Linked DNA regions of Homo sapiens: all the other regions are linked to region 1. The links are contacts of gene promoters, found by promoter capture Hi-C in human tissues and cell types (Jung and others, 2019). All regions are on one chromosome and are shown on one strand. Each heading gives the region's core, a stretch centred on a gene start or on the middle of the fragment in contact. The rest is flanking DNA. Distances are from core to core; before and after follow the strand shown. Region 1 holds the start of FAM171A1 (family with sequence similarity 171 member A1). Region 2 overlaps FAM171A1 (family with sequence similarity 171 member A1). Region 3 overlaps FAM171A1 (family with sequence similarity 171 member A1).

Region 1 (3,526 bases), core at 582-3,081:
GTCTCACAGTCATTTGTCTTTTATAAGCCAACTGGGCAAGTGCCATCCTTCATTCTTTTTTTGGTACGGTGCCTGCCATGTCTAAATGCTCAATTAATGAAATTACAGTAATAACCCTCCTTCTGGCCTGGTGTTCTGGAAGCAGTGTGGGGTGGATGATGGGTCTGGAGTGGATTTTCCTAGGTCCCCAGTGGAAGTCGGAAGGTCACCGCAGTGCTAGTTGGAAGAGAAGGTGGAGAGGGACAAGTGGAGGTGAAGGTTGTGTGGAAGGCATACCGACAGGAGTGGGTTGAGAGAAAGAAAAGTTGAGGTTGGAATGGAGGGGGTCCCTAGGCTCAAGGAAAGTCTAGAGGTTTGGTTTTGTTTTGTGTGTGGTTTTTTTGGTGGTTTTATTTTTTGATTTTTTTTTTTTTTTTTTTTTGAGACGGGGTCTCAGTCTGTCATCCAGGCTGGAGTGCAGTGGCACGATCTTGGCTCACTGCAACCTCCCCACTCCCAGGTTCAAGCGATCCTCCCACCTCAGCCTCCTGAGTAGTTGGGACCACAGGCATGGGCCACTATGCCTGGTTAATTTTTTTGTATTTTTGGTAGAGACAGGGTTTCACCATGTTGGCCCAGCTGGTCTCTTAACTCCTGAACTCAGGCCATCCACCTACCTCAGCCTCCCAAAGTGTTGGGATTATAGGCATGAACCATCACACCCAGCCAAGTCTGGAGGTTTTTGTGAAGAGTTTCAATTTTGGGGTCAGACTGACTGTTTTATTAGAATTTTGGCTCTGCCACTGACCAGGTATGCACTTTTGGACAAATTCCTTAACCCTCTTTAGCCTCTTTTCTCATCTGTGAATGGGGGGGATAATGCTAACTACCTCTTAGATCATGTATTGTGAAGATGGACAAAGAGTCTCTGCTTGACCGAACTACAGTCAGGCTCCGGAACCTTCTTCTAGGCTCAGTTGTGCCCTTCCTTGTAAAATCTGCTTTCAGGAAGAACCCTGCTAAGTCAGTTTACCAAGAACCCTCCACCCTGGATATCTGATCAGCTTCCCCATCCGCCCTGTCCTGCCCAGCCCTGCCAGGGGATGTCTGACTTTCAAGAATCCCCCTTCCCCCTGATGTTTCCTCTTATAATTTTTCATTCCCTGCATCCCACCCTGGTCCTCGGTTATAAATCCCCACTTGTTCCTGCTGTATTCAGAGTTGAACCCAACCTTTCTCCCCGACTGCAGAATCCCATGGTAGGGCTTATACCTATTGCGATGGTTCCAAAGAGGGTCTTCTTTGCTGTGCTTTCACACGTGTCATGGAATAGTCTTTTTTCTTTAATAGGACAGAAAGTTTTAAAGCACCTAGGGCCTCAAAAGATGTGGATTTCCTCCCCACCCTAACCCCTAGAACCATCCAAGTACCATTCCTCCTGAAGCTGTCCACCCGCCAACACGTAGGTACTGCAGGCCTACTGCAGTCTATACTGGCTTGGGGAGTGTTTTTGCGGATCTTTAACACTGGGTGTGAAATCTACGTTGGGGGACACAACTACATTAGGATGGCACCTGGTGGGGGGGTCACACCCAGATACAATGTCTCCTGCGGCCCCTTGGGTGACCTGGTGTGATGAAAAGGGCTCCGCCCTGAAAGGCAGGTCTGGCTCTTCTGCGGGGCTGCGGGGATGGGGCGCGCCGGGGCAGTGTCGCCGGGGGTCGGGCTGGGGGCGCGACGCAGCGGCGCCGGGCGGGGGCGCCCTCGGCGCCGCAGCCGCCAGGTGGCACCACGGGCCCGGGGCCTGGGCGCGGGCAGCGGCGGCGGCGGCGGGCGAGGCAGGAAGGGGTTAAGGAGCTGGCGGAGCAGCAGCAGCCGCCGCCGCCGCCGCCGCCGCGGCTCTTCGGGGAAACCCGGCGCGGGGCGCGGGAGGGAGCGGCCGGGGCGGCGGGGCCGGGCCAATCGGGCGGCGGGCCCGGCGCGCGGAGCCAGCGACATGGAGGGGGGCGCGGCGCCCGGCCGCCCGTGACGCGCCGCCGCCCGGCCCGCTCTCGGCGAGCCCGAGCCGCCGCCGGCCCCGCGGCGGAGATGAGCAGGTCCGCGACGCTGCTGCTGTGCCTGCTGGGCTGCCACGTCTGGAAGGCGGTGACCAAGACGCTGCGGGAGCCCGGCGCCGGAGCCCAAGGTCAGTGGGCGGCGGCGGGGCCGGGGGCTTTGTGTCGCGCCGGGCCTGGCGCGGAGGCGGCGGCGGCGGCGGCGGCGGCGGGAGGGTCCCGGGCCGCGTGGTGGCGACGCAGCCCGAGCCGCATCGGGAGCCTCCGGGCCTGCAGCACCCGCAACGCGCTCCCGAGGGGGCGGCGCGGGCCGGCGACGCGGGGTGACCCGGGCGGAGGCTTCGGGGGCCGGGGATCGGGGGCTGGGTCGGGCGGGGGCGCGGGCAGCTCCAGCTGCTGTCGCCGCTGCGGCGGGGGCTCGTCTGGATGCGCCCGGGGGTCCCCTTTATGCCGCGCCTCGGACACGCGGCTCTGTCTCCCATGTCGCCGCGGACAGAGGGGCCGCCCAGGGCGCGCCGCCCGATCGCGCTCCCGGCTCCCCACGCCGGGCTCGGGTCTGGGAAGTCCCAGCTCCTGGGCTGCGCTGGGGCCTTTTGTTGTGGCGGGAGGGGGTGGCTGACGCCCCGGGGTGCCCCCTGTGTCCCGGGGCCCCGAGGTCCGCTGCCGCCACTAGCCACTAGCCTGCCGCAGTTTGGGAAAGTTTGGGGGGTTCTCTCCCCCTGCCTATCTGACGTCTCTTCCAGACCATAAGGGATTTGCTCAGCGGCCCATGAGTCTTCTCTGTAAGGGAAGAAAGAATTGAACTGGGAGGCCCTCATCGCTCACCAAAAAAAAAAAAAAAAAAAAGAAAAATCCTTTCCAGATCAGTTTGTCGCCAGCTCGTGCCTTTTGTCTCGTCTTTGGCCTCCACAAATCTGCTTTCCAGCCCTGGGAGTAACGTGGTCGCCTCTGAGAATGGCCACGAGCCTGTCTTTTGTTTTTAAAATCAGCGTTTTTTGAGGGGAGTCCCCCACACCCACCCTGAGGCTTGCTTGGCACATTTTTGTGGGGACAGCGTCGAGGACTCCTCTGTTGCTGGCGTTTTCAAAAGGGCCACTGAGGCCCGCAGATGAGCCTCTGCATTCACCCAGGGCACCGCTGCCTGGACTCTTGCCGGGGGCTCAGGTCTCTGCGAGGGAGCTCCCTGCAGCCCTGCAGAACCCCGGGATTCCGAGCCCGAGGCCTGTCCCCTCAGAAGGGTGTGTGTCCTGCAAAGTTGGCCCTGCAGGCCAAAGAAACGAGGAGTGCTGCATCCGAGGGTCTCCTTGCTGGAACCCCCTTTCCTCGGCTAACATGCTCAGGGTGCCTGGGAGCAGAGACGCCCGGGCTTCCACCACGATGTTGCTACGGGGAGGAAAGGCTCTGCCAACACTCTGTTGGGTTGAGTTTGTTGCCTACATGTTGAGTTGAAGGTTTTCATATTCTGGCACTTGCAGTATCATTTCCTGGTATAT
Region 2 (3,526 bases), core at 383-2,882, 95 kb after region 1:
CCGAGGAGGGCAGATCACTTGAGGCCAGGAATTTGAGACCAGCCTGGCCAATGTGACGAAACCCCATCACTACTAAAAATACACAATTAGCCAGGCATGGTGATGCACACCTGTAATTCCAGCTACTCAGGAGGCTGTGGCAGGAGGATAGCTTGAACGTGGGAGGCAGAGGCTGGAGTGAGCCAAGATTGCACCACTGCACTCCAGCCTGGGTAGCAAGAGCGAAACTGCATCTCAAAAAAAAAGAGCCAGCACTGTGAAGTGACTGATCTTCTTAGCACTTATCTTCTAGATCCTGATGTTTTCCCAGAATGTCATTTACCTCTCTAGGCCAACTTTTCCATGTCTCATAGTGGTTGAGAACTCCAGAGTTCAAATCGTAGCCCTGGCATTTATTAGCTGTGGGATATTGGGTGAGTTACTTCCTCATCTGTAAACCTGTTTCCTTACCTGTGAAATGGGCATGTTAATAATGCCTACTTCAGATGCCAGGTACGTTGGCTGATGCCTGTAATCCTAGCAGTTTGGGAGGCCAAGGCAGATGGATCACTTGAGGTCAGGAGTTTGAAACCAGCCTGGCCAACATGGTGAAACCCTGTCTCTACTAAAAATATTTTTTAAAACATTAGCTGGGCATGGTGGCAGGTGCCTGTAATCCCAGCTATTCGGGAGGCTGAGGCAGGAGAATCACTTGAACCTGCGAGGCGGAGGTTGCAGTGAGCCAAGATCACGCGATTGCACTCCAGCCTGGGCAACAAGAGTGAAACTCTGTCTCAAAAATAATAATAATAATGCCTAAGTGATAGAGCTGTTTTGAAGCTTAAATAAATTACTAAAATTAAAGCACTTAGAATACTGTTTGTCCTGTTAGTAAAGGTTCAGTAATGTGAGTGATGATTATTATTCTATAATGCATTTATTTGTTTTTCTCTTAAATTCATGTTTTACCCAGAAATTTGTGGGGTTTCTAAAATTTTTTAGAAATCCAGGTACTTAAGCAAGAGTTTGAAAATAGCATAACTTGGCTAGGTGCAGTGGCTCTAGCCTATAATCCCAGGACTTTGGAAGGCAAAGGTGGGAAGGATTGCTTGAGCCCAGGAGTTTGAGAGTAACCTGGGCAACATATGGAGACCCTGTCTCTACAAAAAATTTTGAAAATTAGCTGGGTGCAGTGGTGCACACCCATGGTCCCAACTATTTGAGAGACTAAGGCAGCAGGGATACTTGAGCCTGGGAGGTCGAGGCTACAGTGAGTTCTAACCGTGCCACTGCACTCCAGCCTGAGTGACAGAGTGAGACCGTGTCTCAAAAAAATAAAAATGAAAAGCACAATTTCTATCATGTTATTAGTTCCCAGGATTGGGGGAATATTCTTTTACCATGAGGTACACATTAACCTAGACACGTATTTTTAAAGCCATTCTTAATGTTAACATCTAACATTATGTATTCTACATTCATGTAGTGTATACATGATAACTTTCATATACTCCTAATGTGAAGAGGCTTAGTTACTTTACTGAAAACTTCTGGCTGGGCGCAGTGGCTCACGCCTGTAATCCCAACACTTTGGGAGGCCAAGGCAGGTGGATCACGAAGTCAGGAGTTCGAGACCAGCTTCGCCAACACAGTAAAACCCTGTATCTACCAAAAATGCAAAAATTATCTGGGCATGGTGGCAGGTGCCTGTAATCTCAGCTACTCGGGAGTCTGAGGCAGGAGAATCGCTTGAACCTGGGAGGCGGAGGTTAGAGTGAGCTGAGATTGCGCCACTGCATTCCAGCCTGGTGACAAGCGAGAGTCCGTCTCAGAAAAAAGAAAAAAAAAAGAAAACTTCTAACAAATGAAAAAAGATGACCATTGTAAGGCAAGTAATTGTTATATGAGATACTGCAATACACTTGTAGCATTTTGAAGGTCTTTTGCTAATCTAACTAAAAATTAATTGTATTAATTGATTTGAAATCAGAAAATACAAAAACTGCAGAGTATCCCAAAAATTAGAGTAGGCACTTAAATATGACTATTAAAATCCCCTTCTATCCATTTCTTTTTCCTGCAGTATTTTCCTCTCTGAGCCTTGGCCTGCTTCCAGAACGCTCTGCCACTCTAATGGTATATGAAGATGTCGTCCAAATAGTATCAGGATTCCAAGGTATATTTAATATTTTTTTCAGTTTTTATTGTTATTTTTGATGGATACATTATTGTATACATTTATGGTGTACAATGTGATGTGATGTTTGTATACAAGGTGGATTGATTAAATCAAACACATTAACCCATCATTAACTTGTCTATCACCTCACTTGCCTAACATTTTTTATAGTGAGACATTTGAAATTTACTCTTTTCATTATTTTGGTATGTACAATAATTAAAAAGAGAAACAACAGTCAGTTTTGGGCCACCTACTAAAATCTTATGGCTCATGCCTATAATCCCAGCACTTTGGGAAGCCTAGGTGGGTTGATCATTTGAGGTCAGGGATTGGAGACCAGCCTGGCCAACATGATGAAACCCCATCTCTACTAAAAATACAAAAAAAAAAAATATTTAGCCAGGCATGGTGGCACATGCCTGTAATCCCATCTACTTGGGAGGCTGAGGCAGGAGAATCGCTTAAACCTGGGAGGTGGAGGTTGCAGTAATCCAAGATTGTGCCACTGCACTCCAGCCTGGGTGACAGAGTGAGACTTCATCTCAAAAAAAAAAAAAAAACTTAAATGGAATCCACTTATTATTTTTTAAATTATACATCATACTTTAAGTTCTAGGGTGCATGTGCACAACATGCAGGTTTGTTACATCTGTATACATGTGCCATGTTGGTGTACTGCACCCATTAACTCGTCATTTACATTAGGTATATCTCCTAATGCTATCCCTCCCCACTCCCCCAACCCCACGACAGGCCCCGGTGTGTAATGTTTCCCACCCTGTGTCCAAATGTTCTCATTGTTCATTTCCCACCTATGAGTGAGAACATGTGGTGTTTGGTTTTCTGTCCTTGCGATAGTTTGCTCAGAATGGTGGTTTCCAGCTTCATCCATGTCCCTACAAAGGACATGAACTCATCATTTTTTATGGCTGCATAGTATTCCATGGTGTACATGTGCCACATTTTCTTAATCCAGTCTATCATTGATGGACATTTGGGTTGGTTCCAAGTCTTTGCTATTGTGAATAGTGCTGCAGCACTATTTATTAAATAGGGAATCATTTCCCCATTTCTTGTTTTTGTCAAGTTTGTCAAAGATCAGACGGTTGTAGATGTGTGGTATTATTTCTAAGGGCTCTGTTCTGTTCCATTGGTCTATATGTCTGTTTTGGTACCAGTACCATGCTGTTTTGGTTACTGTAACCTTGTAGTATAGTTTGAAGTCAGGTAGCGTGATGCCTCCAGCTTTGTTCTTTTGGCTTAAGATTGTCTTGGCAATGCAGGCTCTTTTTTGGTTCCATATGAACTTTAAAGTAGTTTTTTCCAATTCTGTGAAGAAAGTCATTGGGAGCTTGATGGGGATGG
Region 3 (3,526 bases), core at 420-2,919, 65 kb after region 1:
TAATCCCAACACTTTGAGAGGCCGAGGTGGATTACTTGAGGCCAGGAGGTTAAGACCAGCATGGGCAACATAGCTAGACCTCATCTCTACAAAAAAATTAAAAAATAAAAAATGAGCCCAGTATGGTGGCATGTGCCTTTGGTCCCAGTTACCTGGGAGGCTGAGGTAGGAGGATCGCTTGAGCCCAAGGATTCGAGGCTGCAGTGAGCTGTAGCCACTGCACTGCAGCCTGGGCAACAGAACAAAATGCTGTCTCAAAAAAAAAAAAAGGCATTAATTCCCCCACATTGCCTCTGTGCTCCTAAATAAGACTTATTGGTTGGTTGATTAGGAAGGAAACATCACAGTATTGGAAGAATATACCCATGGTTTTGTGGTGGTAGAACTGTTTTGAGATCTTCTTCAAGTCGCATTTTTTTTTTTTTTTTTTTTTTTTGAAATGGAGTTTCACTCTTGTTGCCCAGGCTGGAGTGCAGTGGTGCAATCTCGGCTCACTGCAACCTCTGCCTCCCGAATACAAGCGATTCTCCTGCCTCAGCCTCCTGAGTAGTTGGGATTACAGAAGCCTGCCACCATGCCTGGCTAATTTGCTGTGTTTTTAGTAGAGACGATGTTTCACCATGTTGGCCAGGCTGGTCTCGAACTCCTGACCTCAGGTGATCCACCCGCCTCAACCTTCCAAAATGCAGTGATTACAGGTGTGAGCCACTGCACCCGGCCTCAAGTCGCTTTCTACTTTAAGATGGAATCTTCACTATTTGATCCTGTGTATGGCCTGTTAGCTCAGCCTGTTAGAATCACGTCTGTGTCGTGTCAGGGTTGCAGGTTCAGCCCCCATATGGCCTGTGTATATGACATGCATTTGCACCCTGCAAGCAAATGGGAATTTGCAGGGTTTGTGCAGATTCCAACTTTCTGAAAAACAAATCAAGGTATGTGCCCTCTTGCGGGTGGGCTGATGGTGTCATCCTCATGCTCCTGGGTCAGCACATAGAAGCAGGAAATAAGGTCACCCAACAGAGAGCCTTTCCACAGTACCCTGGATGTAAGTGGATATCCGCACCTGTGAACTGCAGTGACCGAAAGCCCTGGAGAGGGTTCCGTGTCTTCAGAATCACTGAGTGTTTTTGAAGGGCACATGGCGTGATGGAAAGCCGTGCTCTAGGAGGCTTGGTCTGGCAGGAGTGTTAGTCATGATGGATGTCAGCTGGACTTAGTTCCGGTGAGAAGGTGGATAGGACCTAATTGAGTAGAAGAAAAGGATTCTGGATGGAACTGCTGCTTCTCTGGCTGCAGATAGTTGTACTTAAGATGTGGCTTTCAGTCACTGCCCTCATTTATATTTTTGGGTGGTCATCCTTGAGATTCTTCACCTTAAATCTGATGGTCGTGACAGTCCATTGAAAAAGAATGGCTATGCCAGGCTCAGTGGCTCACGCCTATAATCCCAGCACTTTGGGAGGCTGAGGCGGGTGGATCACCTGAGGTCAGCAGTTTGAGACCAGCCTGGCCAACATGGTGAAACCCCGTCTATACTAAAAATACACAAAATTAGCCAGGCATGGTGGGGCATGCCTGTAGTCCCAGCTACTCGAGAGACTGAGTCAGGAGAATCGCTTGAACCCAGGAGGCAGAGGTGGCAGTGAGTCAAGATTGTGCCACTGCACTACAGCCTGGGTGACAGAGCAAGACTGTCTCTCAAAAAAAAAAAAAGAATGGCTAATCCTAAAAGGGTTAAATAAATTACATTGATATTGATGACAATGATGTAAGCATTTTTTCCTCTGCACAATTTAAATATTTTAATTTGACTTTTTCAAAGAAGAACCCCAAACAGTTTACCTGTCATAGCCTCAGTGAAACACCTGAATTGAAATCTGTAACTTAAAATCTTCTCAATCACATTATTCAGGTAAATGCACATCTGAATGTGAAGATAGGGGCTTGCCCCAGCAAGAAACATACGGTCGAGTTGCACACGAGACCCATGCCCGTGATACATTTATCATGTTATCCATGGATCATGCTCTATTTGTGCGATTCCTTTGCATGATCTTGTCCATGCTGTCAGACCCCGTTCTGATGATATTTTGAGAGCAGTTCCACTAAGAGCTCTGTCCAGGCCACCCTCCTCGCCTGTGTTGAGAGAGGATCTGAAGTTTGGCGTTAGTCTTCCTCCTATGTCTGTCCCCGTGTTCGTGCACAGGCACATAGGCACCAGCAAGCCTTTCTCCGATTTTAGGGCTGGACTTTCACCATGGGTTCACCCCACAGTGTCCTTCTGTGGCAGTCCAATTTGCATATTGGATGTACAATTAACCACTTCCCTGCTCAAAAATCTTCAGTGATTTTTTGCTGTCCAAAGTCTGAAATTTTTCATTCACTCTTCTGATCTTTTTTTTTTTTTTTTTTTTTTTTAGCCAGATCTCACTCTGTCACCCAGGCTGGAGTACAGTGGTATGATCACTTCTCACTGCAGCCTCAAACTCCTGACCTCAAGCCATTTTCCCACCTAAGCCCCCTGAGTAACTGGGACTACAGGCATGCACACCACACCAGGCTAAGCTTTTAATTTTATGTAAAGATGGGTCTCACCCAGGCTGGTCTTGAACTCCTGGCCTCAAGCAATCCTCCCACCTCAGCCTCCTGAGTTACTGGGATTATAGGCATGAGCCATGGCACCCAGCCCTCCATTCAGTTCTTTTATAGACATTATAGAGTCGGGAAGGTGACGTGAGAGGTTCATCAGGTCTGATACTGAGTCTTTTATTGTGCTTACCTAACCAGACATTTCCTCTCTCCAGATTAATATTTTCTGTGATCTAGAATTTACTGTTTATTCATGCAGCCTAAACTGTTACAAAGATCTTCCTTGCAGCAAGTATAAATAAAACTAGTTCTGCACCAGTACCTTGTTCATGGCGTATCTTCACCGGGAAAACCTTGAGTCATCTACTATTTTAAATTATAAGTTTTATTATTATTCAGGTGTGGTGAGGCCAACAGACCAGTAGAGGATGGGCAGCTACAGGGAAGATAGTTACTTGGCCGGGTGCTGTGGCTCATGCCTGTAATCCCAGCACTTTGGAAGGAGGCTGAGGCAGGCGTATCACTTGAGGTCAGGAGTTTGAGACCAGCATGACCAACATGGGAAACTCCATCTCTGTTAAATACAAAAATTAGCCAGACGTGGTGGCGCATGCCTGGAATCCCAGCTACTTGGGAGGCTGAGGCAGGAGAATTGCTTGAACCTGGAAGGCAGAGGTTGCAGTGAGCCAAGATTGCGCCAGTGCACTCTAGCCTGGGCAACAGAGCGAGACTCTGAAGAGAGAAAAAGACAGAGAGAGAGGGAGAGAGGGAGGGAAGTTAAAAGAAAAGAAGAGTTGCTCACAGTTCCCAAGAGGAGGGCTACACCATAACAGGCAGGGCCACACAGAGAAACACCAGGGCCAGCCAGGAGGCTGAGGGAGCAGGAGAAAATGTGGGCAGGACCCTTTATTGAGGTTTTTTCAGGAAGGAATGGACA

Evidence for each region. The method cuts DNA at HindIII sites, captures the fragments that hold promoters and counts their contacts. A contact is called where the count stands out against the background at its distance.
Region 2: a fragment that was not itself captured here is called in contact with the fragment with the promoter of FAM171A1 in region 1 in 2 of the 25 tissues and cell types used here (dorsolateral prefrontal cortex and mesenchymal stem cells).
Region 3: a contact is called between a fragment that was not itself captured here and the fragment with the promoter of FAM171A1 in region 1, in 4 of the 25 tissues and cell types used here (dorsolateral prefrontal cortex, heart right ventricle, liver and 1 more).

The regions. Positions count from the first base shown.
Region 1 is chr10:15,369,594-15,373,119 of GRCh38, reverse strand. It overlaps FAM171A1 (family with sequence similarity 171 member A1), which reads left to right and starts at 1,831. Exons shown (of 8, transcript NM_001010924.2): 1 at 1,831-2,164. The coding sequence starts at 2,068. RefSeq lists silencers at 1,785-1,834, 1,845-2,074. The HindIII fragment of the contact is 11,349 bases long and covers 1-3,526 here.
Region 2 is chr10:15,274,484-15,278,009 of GRCh38, reverse strand. It overlaps FAM171A1 (family with sequence similarity 171 member A1), which reads left to right. Exons shown (of 8, transcript NM_001010924.2): 3 at 2,063-2,155. Among named protein-coding and RNA genes, the nearest start is that of FAM171A1-AS1, 68 kb to the right of the region's middle. The HindIII fragment of the contact is 3,779 bases long and covers 1-3,521 here.
Region 3 is chr10:15,304,557-15,308,082 of GRCh38, reverse strand. The region is part of intron 1 of FAM171A1 (family with sequence similarity 171 member A1); the gene reads left to right. Among named protein-coding and RNA genes, the nearest start is that of FAM171A1, 65 kb to the left of the region's middle. The HindIII fragment of the contact is 8,166 bases long and covers 1-3,526 here.